Linked DNA regions of Homo sapiens: regions 2, 3, 4 and 5 are each linked to region 1. The links are contacts of gene promoters, found by promoter capture Hi-C in blood cells and fetal thymus (Javierre and others, 2016). All regions are on one chromosome and are shown on one strand. Each heading gives the region's core, a stretch centred on a gene start or on the middle of the fragment in contact. The rest is flanking DNA. Distances are from core to core; before and after follow the strand shown.

Region 1 (2,522 bases), core at 10-2,509:
TCTAAGCATGACTTAATTAAAAAAATTTCCCCTGCAGTTTCCATTTCAGATCCACGGCTGTTTTCCTCCTTGACCCTGGAGCGTTCCTGTACTTACTTCACTCCTGTCCCTCACCGAAAACAGCGGTACTGGAGGAATCAACCCCATGCCCGCCAGTCACCGGGTTGTTTGAGGTCATGGATAAATACAGCTGAAGCTCCTCTGCCCCGTACGTACGGCTAGCACGAGAAACTTACTGTAGTTTTAGTTTTAACATTCTCCATAGGTGACTTTAAACTTCATTTCTTGAAAATGGGTTCAAAATAAGAAAACTGCCCTGGTTGCGCAGGGATCACACCCGCAGCAGACGGCGCGCGCTGGCCTTGGCGGGCCGGGCGAGAGCGGCCTTAGGCGTTCACTCCCCTGCCTGCCTGCGCTCCACTCGAACCCAGCTTTTTCTTGGGCGAGTATGCTAAGGGCCGAAGTTTCCGTGGAGAGCCGCCCCCACAGGCCCCGGGGGCTGCCAGGACCTCTGAGGCAGGGCCGGGGGCCAAGGGCAGGTCTGCCCGGAGGCGGCACGAAAACCTCTGCCAGGCTTTGGGATTGGGATGCAGGGCGCTCCAAGGAGACCCCCGCCCCTAGTTTCACCGAGAGGCCCATCCCCGAAAGACTCCCAGGCTCGATGAGACTCGAAGCCCACGGGGCGAAGGGCACCTGCCCGGGCGCCAGGAGGCCCGGCCCAGGGTCGCCGTGGCGCCCTTACCCACGGTGGACTTGCAGGCCTCGCAGAAGGTGTCGTCGGTGAAGCGCTCCATCAGGCTGGTCTTGCCCACGCCGCGGGAGCCGATAATGATGACCTGCAACTTGAAGTCGGCCGGCCTGGGGGGCTGCTTCCTCCGGCGGCCCTGGCCGCCCGACAGCGCCGGGGAGCCCGCGCCCAGACCGCCGCCGCCCCCGGCCCGCCTCTGCAGCGCGGCGCCCGGATCCATACACGCATGCGGCTCCCGCTCGGCCCGCCGCCCGCCGCCGCCCGCCCCCCGGCTGCGCGCCCCGGGCCCCGGCGCCCCCTCGGCCTCCGCCGCGCGCGGGGGGTCGGCCCCGGGCTCGGCTTCCGCCCGCTGGAGCGGCCCCGGCGGCCCGTGGGCTCCGCGCTGCAACTGCGCCGCCGGCCGGCTCTCTGCGCCCGGGTCCCCTCCTCCTCCTCCTCCGCCGCTGCCGCCGCCGCCGCCGGGAGAGGAGGAAGGGAAGCAGCTACTCCGCAGTAGCGGCAGCAGCATCCCGGACGAGGAGGGGCAGGAAGCGCAGGCGCGGGCGGGGCGGCTGGCCGCGAGGGGCCGGAGGCGGGCGGGTGGGCGCCCCCTGCCGGCGGGAGGACCGCGCGCCCGGGCCTCGGTTGGGTACTGCGCGCGGAGCTTTCCCGCAACCCGCGCCGCTCTTTCCCTGCCTCTGCTCGCCTGCCCGCCCCCGCTTCCCTCCCTCTTCCGCCGGCTCTTTCATCTTTTCTTCCTCTTATCTCTTCCCTTTTCCCCCTTTTCACTCCTCCCTACTCGGCTTTCACTCTGACCCGCATTTATAGTTAACACAAGAAACTTAGTGTGGTTTTAGTCTTAAAATTCTCCGTAGGCAATTTTGAACTTCAGCATTCCGGTGCATCATGAAAATGGGTTCAAAATAAGAAAAAGAACCCTGGTTGACAGTGAAAACACTCCCATGCGCACAGTCCCCAAACACCATGCACATGTTTTCGCCCCCGCGCGCTCGGTGTAGCTGGAACGCTGGAAAGGCCCCGACCTGAGGCCGCGCCGCCGGGCCGCCTGCGCTGCGTTCGCGTCTACACCAGCGCTCTCTCACAAACACCAGCGGGTGCAAGCCCCCGCACCCTCTACCGGGCCGTGGCACTGCTCGGTCTCTCTCCGTCACGTCTGTCTCCCATTTTGCACGGAAACGCGCGAAATCAGTTATTTTTAACTCTGATCGCTGTCTCACTCAGAGTTCAGAAGTTTTTATGCTGTTTAATTTTTAAATTAAGTAAATGGCATACTCCTTTGGGGGAATAAGCGAGTTAAAACTCAAACAGTGCGAGAAGATTGAAACTTTAGGAATTATGGACTCGGGTCGTATGTTTTGCCATTTCTGTTTGGAAGGATTTAAGGATACAGAAAATCACTGCTGATTCCTTGCCAGAGATTTGTTTAGCAAATTCCTCAGCTTGAACTTGAGCATCTCAGAACACAGGGTTCTGAATATGATAGGGGCTGGCAACATTTGCCGAATGATCACGTTACCCACAAAATTTCAGCTGTGCTGTATTTAGAACTAGGTTTAGTAATGCACAGTACACGCATATGTTACACAGCAAACCTGATTTGTAAAAATCTAGCGTTGCCCACAGTGTAGATTGGAAGTTTACATCTATGAGAGCATTCTTAACTGTGCAGTCACTGTAGGGATCTTTATAATATGAATTCTGAGAATATGTAAAATATGATCCCTCTATATTATTTGAAACACAGATCCATCACTTACCATCACGGAATTTACTT
Region 2 (2,522 bases), core at 13-2,512, 970 kb before region 1:
CGATTGTGTCCATCCTTCCATAAAACCTCTCATTTTCAAATGTTTTAAAAATTCCTGATTTTAAAAATAATACAGAAATACGACATGAAGTGGAATTCTATAACTTCTTTATCACCCCTCCTACATGAGACAGTCATCAAGAACAATAGTATATGCTTCAAGATCTTTGTGACATACTTTAAGTTAACATTATGTTTCTGGTACGTCTGTCTTGCTTCCTTCTAGTGAACAAATTAAAGTCTTTCCTACCTGAAAACATTAAATGTATTTATCACATTTTGTTGGCTTTATTGATTTTTATGTTCTTTGTGGCACTCTTGGTTTTCCTTATTCTTTTTGTTCTTGAGAACACAGCAGGACCTTCTTTAGTTTTGTTCTATGCAAATGTTTCATAGTATCTCATACTTAGATTATCATGGTTCAAACATTCAAGAGAGGATAAAAACAATTGAAAGTAAAAAAGAGCAAATAGGGGTTTGTTTGGGGTTTTTTTTTTAGACAGTCTTGCTCTGTCACCCAGGCTGGAGTACAGTGGTGTGATCACGGCTCACTACAGACTTAGCCTCATGGGTTCACGCGCTTCTTCCACCTCAGGCCCTGCCGAGTAGCTGGGACCACAGGCATGCGCCACCACGCCCTGCTAACTTTGGTATTTTTTGTAGAGACTGGATTTCGCCATGTTGCCCAGGCTGGTCTCAAACTGCTGGACTCAAGCGATCTGCCCAGCTCAGCCTCCCAGAGTGCTGGGATTACAGGCATGAGCCACTGCGCCCAGCCAGAGAAAATAGCTTGTAAGAATTTTTCAGTCCTAGCTAAAGTTCTGAATCTGGGCTTCCTTTAGAAAAGCTTCATTATTATCCTAAACATACTTCGGCATTTGAAAGTAGATTATTAAATATACATAATGTGTGCGTATATAATTCTTTTTCAAAATGATTCCTTTATTATTGTCCTTTTTATCTTCCTAGGTTCGCCAAGCAGCTTTTCAGTCTCTGGGACCTTTCATATCTACTTTTGCTAATCCATCTAGCTCAGGCCAGTATTTTAAAGAAGAAAGCAAAAGTTCAGAAGAGATGTCAGTAGAAAACAAAAATAGGTATAATTTTGAAACCATTTTCTAATTTTAAAACCTTGTTTTCTAATTTTACTGCTTTTAAACATTATTTCCACTATTCTGCAACAAATGTTATTTTTTGATAGTTTGCTATTTCTCTTGAATATAAAAATTGGTGAATATTTTTATAGAGCTTTACTTTAAGCGCATTTGTTTGTTAAGTATCTCTTTGGTTGGTTACATATTGAATGAGTAGATGCATGTAACACAATTAGCTAGATGCCTCGCACATAGGAAACTCTAAATGGTAGATTATGACTTTTAAAAAATGTTTATTTAGTACATTATTTAGTCAATCATTCATTGATATCTACAATATACAGGGTAATTGTTACACACTGTGTAGTATTTGGGTTTTTTTAAATTTGTTTTTAAGGAGTAAAACTTAATTTAGGAATATGTTTTATTGTCCTTTTCTGTCAAATAATTTAGTTGCGCATCTTGGATTCTTTGTCAATGGTGATTGTAATCTGTCAGTTAAAGGAGAAAGCCAGTATATTAGCCAGTATATCAGTTTTAAGTATATCAGTCTCATAAGGAAACCAAAGTTTTAAATAAAGCTTAAAGAGTCGGCTGTGATTTTTATTTTTAAATGTTTTTGCATTGAAAATTTTCTATTAAATTTAAATTTTAAAAATTTATTATAATATATATTTAGGGGAAAAACTAATTCAAGCCTAACTTACTAGTATGCGGGAAATGTACACAAACTTTTACAGTTATGCACTTGAAGTAATTTTAGTACAAATATTTGAAACAGTCCCTGCTATAATGCTTGAGTTACCATAGTGTCTTTTCCCTCCCTTGTCATGATGCTAATGGACATTTTCTTCTGTAGGTCTTGATACTGTGCTATTTGCTTTCTTGGTGTTTTGATTTGGCAGTTCTTCTTTCTTCTCTGCTGCCTTGTTTTACCTTTTTGCCCGTTCTCCTACTGTCCTGCTGAATAGCCAAACAAACCTGAGGTACTGTTTTTTGTAAAGGAAGAAAATCACTCAAACCTGTCTTCCTAGCAAGCAAAGTCTGTCAGTTTTTTTGAAAACAGGTGCTGCCAGGACTTTGACAAAAGTGATGATGGTGGGTGGGGAATGTTATCTATTTTTCATTTTTGAAATCAGCATACTTAAAAAATTACCTGTTTATACTGAAGACTGTTACATAACTTCTGTTTTAAAATCTGAAATGGGTCTAGTAAGAAACTATAAATTTGCAGAGAACTGTATAGGACGAGCTGGTAAACTTTCTTCTGTTTCACAACTACTCACTCGGCCTTTGCAGTGTATAAGCAGCCGTAGACATTACATAAATGGACAAGCTTGGCTGTGTTCCAGTAAAACTTCACTGACCTCAACAGTGTGCCTATCAAGGCCATGTTTGCCGCCTACCGGTGTGTAGCATTACTGCAATA
Region 3 (2,522 bases), core at 7-2,506, 910 kb before region 1:
TATTTATTTATTTTTTTTTTTTTTGAGACAGAATCTTGCTCTGTTGCCAGGCTGGAGTGCAGTGGCGCGATCTTTGCTCACTGCAACCCCTGCCTCCCGGGTTCAAGCTATTCTCCTGCCTCAGCCTCCCAAGCAGCTGGGACTACAGGCGTGCGCCACCACTCCTGGCTAATTTTTTGTATTTTAGTACAGACAGGGATTCGCCATGTTGGCCAGGATGGTCTCAATCTCCTGACCTCGTGATCTGCCCACCTCGGCTTCCCAAAGTGCCGGGATTACAGGCGTGAGCTACCATGCCTAGCCAATTATTCATAAAAATCAAATATTTGTTTAAATATATTTATATAATACTAAGGAGTTATAAACTCAAATTCAATGCCTAATTTATTTAATTTTCTATAAAAAAGTAACATTTTACCAAAAATACTCTTAAATAATGGCATGTAATCTAGTGGATTATGTAACGGTTTTCCCAATTATCAAAAATATCTGCCCTTTCTCAGCAAAACTTAAGTATCAAATCTACCTTCTAGAATTGCGTATGAACCAACTAAATGAAAAAACTAAGTCTATCTCTCTATATATTCCACATGTGTATGACTTAACAACTCATCATGAAAGTACTTGTGACCAACAAGTATTATTATTATTATTTTTGAGACAAGGTCTCAATCTCGCCCTGGCTGGAGTGCAGTGGTACGATCATGGCTCACTGCAGCCTCAAACTCCTGGGTTCAAGTGATCCTCCTGCCTCAGCCAACAATTAACTTTATAAAACAAATCTCTAAACAGAAACTGATGAGGTACCAAGACACTGAATAATGGGAATGTAATAATTTGGAACACAGATGCTGCTACAGGTCAGGGCTTTCATCCTATCCTGGTATAAAAGTCATACCGCTTTCTAAGAAATCTTTTTACTTTTAAATAATATACATATTGCTTGATTTAGATACCCAATCAAAACACATTCTTTCCAAGTATGAAATTTAATTTGTATACATATGGAATAAAGATAAATAGAAAATCCATTTTGCTAATATACGTAATAGTTGCATGTAGCTGACCAAAGCATTCACATGTGGGGCCTAAACATTTACTGCTTCTTGGTCTTTTGGCTAAAGTTGGGTGTAGTATCTGTTCTAGGATTTCTGGAGCAGGGAGATGGAACAGAAGCTTGCTTGGACCACTCCATGTATTGACCGGGTACTGCACTAACTCTAAGAACCGCGCACCAAGAAAACCAAAACCAAAACCATGTCATGCCTCTTAGCTGAGCTAAGGAAATGCATTATATGACTGTGTCCATAAACGTGTCTCTTGGCCAAGAAGCTTCCTTCACACAGTTAACCTTTCTTTTCTTGCTGATGGCCCTCATACCACTGAGCCTCTGCTTAGAGAGGAAAGAAAAAAAAAAAAAAAAAAGCAGGCGCCTGGGAGTGGTGGCTCACTCCTGTAATCCCAGCACTTTGGGAGGCCGAGGAGGGCAGATCATCTGAGGTCAGGGGTTCGAGACCAGCCTGACCAACATGGTGAAACCCTGCCTCTACTAAAAATACAAAAATTAGCTGGGTGTGGCGGCAGGCGCCTGTAATCCCAGCTACTCAGGAGCCTGAGGCAGGGGAATCGCTTGAACCCAGGAGGCAGAGGTTGCAGTAAGCCGAGATCACGCCACTGCACTCCAGCCTGGGCAACAGAGCGAGACTCTGTCTCAAAAAAACAAACAAACAAAAGAAAAAAAAAAGCAGGGTCTGAATGCAGCCCTGTTAAGCAATGCTGCCAGTATACTTCACTTTGTTTTAGTCCTGGCTGCTGCAAGCTATGAACAACTAACGTGAAATCCTCCTAATGGAAGGAAATATTAAAAAAACAAATGCCAGAACACCAAAGAAAGGCTGGGGAGAGGGGTGGATTTTTGTGCAACTGGTAGGATCAAGGAAATGAATAAGGCTTAGGATCCAGGCCAAATTTTCCTCACAATAATTTTTCTTCCTTCGAAAAATGAAACTGAAGTTATTATTAAAAACCATCAAGTGAAGTGCACATTCCCAGTACCTGATACTCTGTAGATGCCTTCACACTTCATGCCATACTTCTCTACGTAATCTATACATTCACGGAAAACGGCTGGCAGCCGAATGCCATCATACATCATGGTCCTCTCTACTGCATCAGCCAAAGGAATTCCAAAAATGGGTTTGAGATTTGGAACATCAATCTGAGGCACCTCTGGCTCCTGAATTGGCTTTTTCTTTTTCTTCTTTTCCTTCCACTGTTTAACAACATCAGCTGCTGTCAAGTCTTTTGACTTCTTCTCTTTATGTTTTTCTTCTTTGTGCTTTTCTTCTTTATGCTTTTCTTCTTTGGGTTTCTCTTTTATTTTAAAATCCTTTTCCTTCTTTTTAGAAAAGCTGGGCTTCTTGAAAACATGGATTCCCTTGGACCTCTTCATTTTAGAAGGACTTTCTGCCTCATCTCCAGAGCTATCTTCCTGAAAGGCTGCATAGCCTTCAGCTGCCAAA
Region 4 (2,522 bases), core at 9-2,508, 730 kb before region 1:
AAAAAGACTAGCACAAACACAGTCTGACAGGGGCCAAACAGTATACAGTTATTAAACTTTAAATACGGGAAGATATCATTTCTTCAGGTTAAAACACCTCCCTATCAAACATAATAAATTAAAATAAATGACTACTGACGTAAGAGGGATAAATAGTGAGTTTATGGGGGCATTTATGATTACTCTAAACTTTTATTCTAAGTGTTACAAAGTACATTAAAGGAAAAATAATAAAAGGGTGAAAAGAATAAAGGGCTTTGGACCTGGTATGAGTCAATTTTGAAAGAGAAAACCCTGGTGATCGTTACTGAGGCTCACAAAGCATTCCCTAAAGACCGTTAGTAACTAATTTTCTAATGTATCTAACGCCGCATACCAAGTAGGATGATTTCTGGAGCAACCAGTACATATTTGCGGAGGCCAAATAAGGTTATTTGGAGACTAACTGTCGTGGAACTAGTTTTCATCCTACAACCATGAAAACTGGGATTTCCCCCCTTTCCCATCTTTTACGGTTGTCTTATGAAATGTTCCACAAATTCATCTTACTCCCCAAATTTCACTGGAAAAAGTATTCAAGTAACTACGACCATGTCGAAATCAGGTAATAGAATTAAAGGACTTATCTTTTCCTAAGGAGTTAGAAACCATCATGCATCAAAATTGTTTCGCATACATCACGCCCAAGTTTCTCGTTAAGGGAGATGGCACTGACAGCGACCAGGGCAGAGCCGAGCCTCTGTAGAGCGGTGCCAGGGCCCCGAAGGCGCCGGACGCCCCGCGAGGCAGAGGCCGGTAGCGGTGTGGGGGACCGGGCACCCGGAACCACCCCCACCCCGGCTCGGCCGACGCGGGCTGCGGAGGACGCGGGCCGGCCCAGAGATGGTCTGGACCAAAGCGGCGCAGAGATGCTGCTGGCTCCCGGCGTCCGGCCTGTGCGCCCGCGCCCAGCACCCCCACTTTGTCCTCCGCGCAGCCGGGCCCAGGCTTCTCCCGGCCCCCGCGAAGCTCGCCGCGGCCCCGGGCCTCTAGAGGGCCGAGCTCGGCGCCCGGCCCCTTCCCAACCAAGAGGCCAAGAGGCTGCACAACCCCCCAGCCGCTCCCACTCACCATGCGCCACGGTCCCGCGAAGTCGCCCACCCCTAGATCCCCGCCGGGTCGGCCGAGCCCGGGGCGCGCTGCGGCGGCTTTGAGTGCGAGGCCAGGCCGCGCCTCCCGCCGTCCCCTCAGCGCAGCGCCCGCGAGCCTCGGGCACCTTAAAGAGACAGGCCCGCCCGCCGCCCTCCTCCCGGCTCCTTGCTCCCCGCCCCTGCTCCCCTCTTCCCCTCCGCCCCCGCTGGGGTCCACAGCCGCCAGCTCCCGCCAGGAGGCGTCTCTCACTCCCCCGGCGCTCCTGTCAGCGCGCACGCCCCCATCTCGGCCCCGCCCACTCCCCCCGCCCCTCCCAACGCCACGCCCCCTCCGCGCCACCCGGTTTCGCCCCTCCCTCGTGCCACGCCTCCACCGCAGGCTCCCGCCCGCCCGCCGGCCCGCAGGCCACGCCCCCAGGCGCACCCACCCCAGCTGCTCAACGCGATTTCCCTTCGCGCTTCTCCGCACCGGGATCCCCAGTCCCTCAGGTTCCGACAGACCCTCCTGTCAGGCCCATTCTCCGGGCCCCCTCAGTTGCAGTGTTAAGATCAACAGTGTTAAGATTAAAGCCTTGTGATGTGCTAGCCACTACGCTGAGGATATGCCGTGTACTAAAATTCCTCAGGACTCCTCACAGCTGCCCTGTAAGGAAGCGGCCATGGCCGGGTTCTAGCGATGCGAGGCCGAGGCTCGGGGCGCTGAGTAGCCTAGCGCGTCGCCGAGGAGAGCTGGCACGTGAACCCCTTGTCGTTTGCCGTCAGAGGTAGGATTTATATAAAATGCGCGTTTCCTAGGTCTACCTCAGACCTACTGAATAAGGATCTCCAAGGGTAGAGCTTTCGAACTTCGTTCACCAATTCGATAAAACTTGCCAGGCTCCTTGTGAGTGGCTGGCGCTGAGCTCTGCATCGGAGCTCTGCATCGGGAGTCGAGAAGAGGGGGCGCCATGGATCCGGGCGCGGAGGTCGCGCAGCCTAGGTAGAAGGTGCGCGGTTAGCACGTAGGTTAAAAACATTGAGAATGACACTCAGTTCTTTCCCACAACTCTGGGTTGCTTTTTTTTTTTTTTCTTTTGAGACAAGGTCTCACTCTCACCAGGCTGGAGGGCAGTGACAACATCAGGCTCGCTGCAGCCTCCACCTCCTAGGCTCAAGCAATCCTCCCGCCTCAGCCTCCCGAGTAGCTGGGGCTACGGGCGCGCACCACCACGCCTGGCTAATATTTTATTTTTTTGTAGATATGGAGGTCTTGCTATGTTGCCCAAGCTGGTTTCAAATTTCGGGGCTCAAGCGATCCTCCCACCGCGGTCTCCTAAATCGTTGGGATGACAGGTGTGAACCATAGTGCCCGGCCGGAATTTGCTTTTTAAAGAAGATTCCAGGGTGATTAAG
Region 5 (2,522 bases), core at 6-2,505, 580 kb before region 1:
CCTCTCAGTCATCCATGAGTGTTAGAATCAACTTTTCCAAACTCTGGTTAATATTGGTATTTTGACTTCCTCTCATGAATCACAAATGTTTTTAATGGCATCTAAAATGGTGAATCCTTTCAAGATGGTTTTCAATTTTTTTGCCCAAATCCATCAGAGGAATCACTCTCTATGGCAGCTACAGCCTTACAAAGCATACTTCTTTAATAAGACTTGTTTAAAAAGTTAAAATTATTCCTTGACCTATGGGCTGCAGAATGGACTGCATGTCAGCAGCCATGAAAACAACATTATTCTCTTTGTATGTCTCTGTCAGAGCTCTTGGGTGACAGCTCACTGACATGTTGTCAATGAGCAGTAATATTTTGAAAATAATCCTTTTTTCTTAGTAAGTCTCAACAGTAGGCTTAATCTATTCAGGAAACCATGCTGTGAACAGATGTGCTGTCATTAGGCACTGTTTTTCCATTGATAAGGTACAGGCAGAGTAAATTTCACGTAATTCTTATGGGTCTTGGCGTTTTTGCAATGGAAAAAGAGCACTGGCTTTAACTTAATAGTTGTCAGCTGCATTTGTCCCTAACAAGACAGTGAGCCTGTCCTCTGAAGCTTTGAAGCCAGGGATTGACTTCTCCTCTCTAGCTTTCAAAGTCCTACATGGTATCTTTTTCCAATAGAAGGCTATTTCATCTATACTGAAATCTGTAGTTTAGTGTAGCCATCTTCATCAAAGATCATAGCTAGATCTTCTGGATAACTTGCTGTAGCTTCCACATTAGCACTTGGTGCTTCACCTTGCACTTTTATGTTATGGAGACAGCTTCTTTCCTTAAACCTCATGAACCAACTTATGCTAGCTTCAGACTTTTCTTCTGCAGCTTCCAAACCTCTCTCAGCCTTCACAGAATTGAGGAGAGGGCCTTGATCTGGATTGAACTTTGGTTTAAGGGGATGTTGTAGCTGGTTTGATCTTCTATCCAGACCACTCCAAACTTCCTCCATATCAGCAATAAGACTGTTTTGCTTTCTTATGGTGTGTTCACTTTAACAGCACTTTTAGTGTTCTTCAAGAACTTTTCCTTGGCATTCCTCTCTTGGTTAACTGGCACAAGAGGCCTAGCTTTTGACCTCTCTCAGCCTTTGACATACCTTCCTCACTAAGCTTAATCATTTAGAGCTTTTGACTTAAAATGAGAGACATTCCACTCTTCACTTGAATACTTAGAGACCACTGAAACACAACAATTTCAAAATTGTTGTTTTAGGAAATAGGAAGGCCCAAGGAGGGGCGGAGTTGGGAGAGAAGCCAGTAAGTGGAGCAGTAGAACACATACAACATTAAGCTTGCCATCTTTTCTGCATACAGTGTGGTGCCCACAAAACAACTACAACAGTAACAAAGATCACTAATCATCATCATGATAATGAAAAAGTTGGAAATATGAAAATTATCAAGATGTGACATAGAGACAAGTGAGTACATGCTGTTGGAAAAATGTTGCCAATGAACTTGCTCAACACAGGGTTGCCACTAACCTTCAATTTGTAAAAAGCACAATTATCTGCAAAGCACAATAAAGTGAAGTGCAATAAAATGAGGTATGCCTGTAAACCAAAATGTTAATAGCTATCTGTAGGTGGTGCCATTACAGCTGTGTTGGGACATAATTCTCCATGTCTCTCTTGCATTTTTGCACATGTTGCGAGCAGACACACTAATTTCCTTTGTCCTGGACTATCTTTTCATGGGTATTTGTATGATAAACAGCCTCGAAAGACAGAGGTAGTGTCTCCCTCTAAAGCTAAGGACATACCTGTTTGCTGTCCAGTGTAATAATGTCTCCTTCTAGGGAAAAGTTCAGGCAGACTTACTGCCCATCATAAAAGATTTGGGGTTCCTACCCTGTAATACAACCCACTGCATATGCAGTTGTCATCTGCCCATCACTGCATCCCCCTTGTGAGAAGCGAGGCTCAGGGAACAGGCACAAACAATGATACTCTGGCTACTGCTATTGCTGAATAGCAAATATTCCTTCATCACTGACCTAGGAATTGTGTCTTCTGCCAGCATCCATGAAGCTAATTAGCTTACAAGTAGGGTAAAATCTCAGAACCTTCACAGTTGTTGACAAGGTAATAGGTAATTTCTATTTTCATTATTCTTATATGTATTTTCTAATTTTTTACAACAAACATGTATTATAATACTTGGATAATAAAAGAAAAAATTCTCAATAGTCACTTGGAGAGGAAATAATGAATGTCTGAACTACACTGATGACGAAAAGGATATAACAGAACTATTCAGATGGTTAAAATAATTAATATCCCCTCTCTCACATTTTATGAATTTAACCAGGTTTTAGACTATCTTAACAGAGTTTATAAAAGATTCTGCTTTGCAAATTTTAAATACTGATTTATAGCTAAAAGAGTAGTGGAGACATTTCTAAACTAAACTAGAATCAATGGGGGGAAAAGACCACAGATGAGCAGTGAAAGGTGTGAACATTCTTGTC

What was found. The method cuts DNA at HindIII sites, captures the fragments that hold promoters and counts their contacts. A CHiCAGO score of 5 or more calls a contact.
Region 2: a contact is called between a fragment that was not itself captured here and the fragment with the promoter of RAB12 in region 1, in 1 of 17 cell types (naive CD8 T cells). The highest score is 5.9, in naive CD8 T cells.
Region 3: a fragment that was not itself captured here is called in contact with the fragment with the promoter of RAB12 in region 1 in 5 of 17 cell types (total CD4 T cells, naive CD8 T cells, activated CD4 T cells and 2 more); the score reaches 9.4 in total CD4 T cells.
Region 4: a contact is called between the fragment with the promoter of TWSG1 here and the fragment with the promoter of RAB12 in region 1, in 11 of 17 cell types (activated CD4 T cells, total CD4 T cells, naive CD8 T cells and 8 more). The highest score is 16.0, in activated CD4 T cells.
Region 5: a fragment that was not itself captured here is called in contact with the fragment with the promoter of RAB12 in region 1 in 1 of 17 cell types (naive B cells); the score reaches 6.2 in naive B cells.

Annotation. Positions count from the first base shown.
Region 1 is chr18:8,608,174-8,610,695 of GRCh38, reverse strand. RAB12 (RAB12, member RAS oncogene family) reads right to left here and starts at 1,259. Exons shown (of 6, transcript NM_001025300.3): 1 at 743-1,259. The coding sequence starts at 1,256. RefSeq lists an enhancer at 1-21 and silencers at 472-771, 1,202-1,431. The HindIII fragment of the contact is 24,115 bases long and covers 1-2,522 here.
Region 2 is chr18:9,575,638-9,578,159 of GRCh38, reverse strand. It overlaps PPP4R1 (protein phosphatase 4 regulatory subunit 1), which reads left to right. Exons shown (of 20, transcript NM_001042388.3): 10 at 969-1,096. Among named protein-coding and RNA genes, the nearest start is that of PPP4R1, 38 kb to the left of the region's middle. The HindIII fragment of the contact is 828 bases long and covers 849-1,676 here.
Region 3 is chr18:9,516,837-9,519,358 of GRCh38, reverse strand. RALBP1 (ralA binding protein 1) reads right to left here. Exons shown (of 10, transcript NM_006788.4): 3 at 2,056-2,514. It also overlaps the pseudogene RNU2-27P. Among named protein-coding and RNA genes, the nearest start is that of RALBP1, 43 kb to the right of the region's middle. The HindIII fragment of the contact is 156 bases long and covers 1,179-1,334 here.
Region 4 is chr18:9,333,509-9,336,030 of GRCh38, reverse strand. It overlaps TWSG1 (twisted gastrulation BMP signaling modulator 1), which reads right to left and starts at 1,258. Exons shown (of 5, transcript NM_020648.6): 1 at 1,111-1,258. It overlaps TWSG1-DT (TWSG1 divergent transcript), which reads left to right and starts at 1,562. Exons shown (of 3, transcript NR_183523.1): 1 at 1,562-1,894. RefSeq lists enhancers at 658-707, 470-970 and a silencer at 768-1,557. The HindIII fragment of the contact is 11,774 bases long and covers 1-2,522 here.
Region 5 is chr18:9,187,638-9,190,159 of GRCh38, reverse strand. All of the region lies in intron 2 of ANKRD12 (ankyrin repeat domain 12), which reads right to left. Among named protein-coding and RNA genes, the nearest start is that of ANKRD12, 52 kb to the right of the region's middle. The HindIII fragment of the contact is 181 bases long and covers 1,165-1,345 here.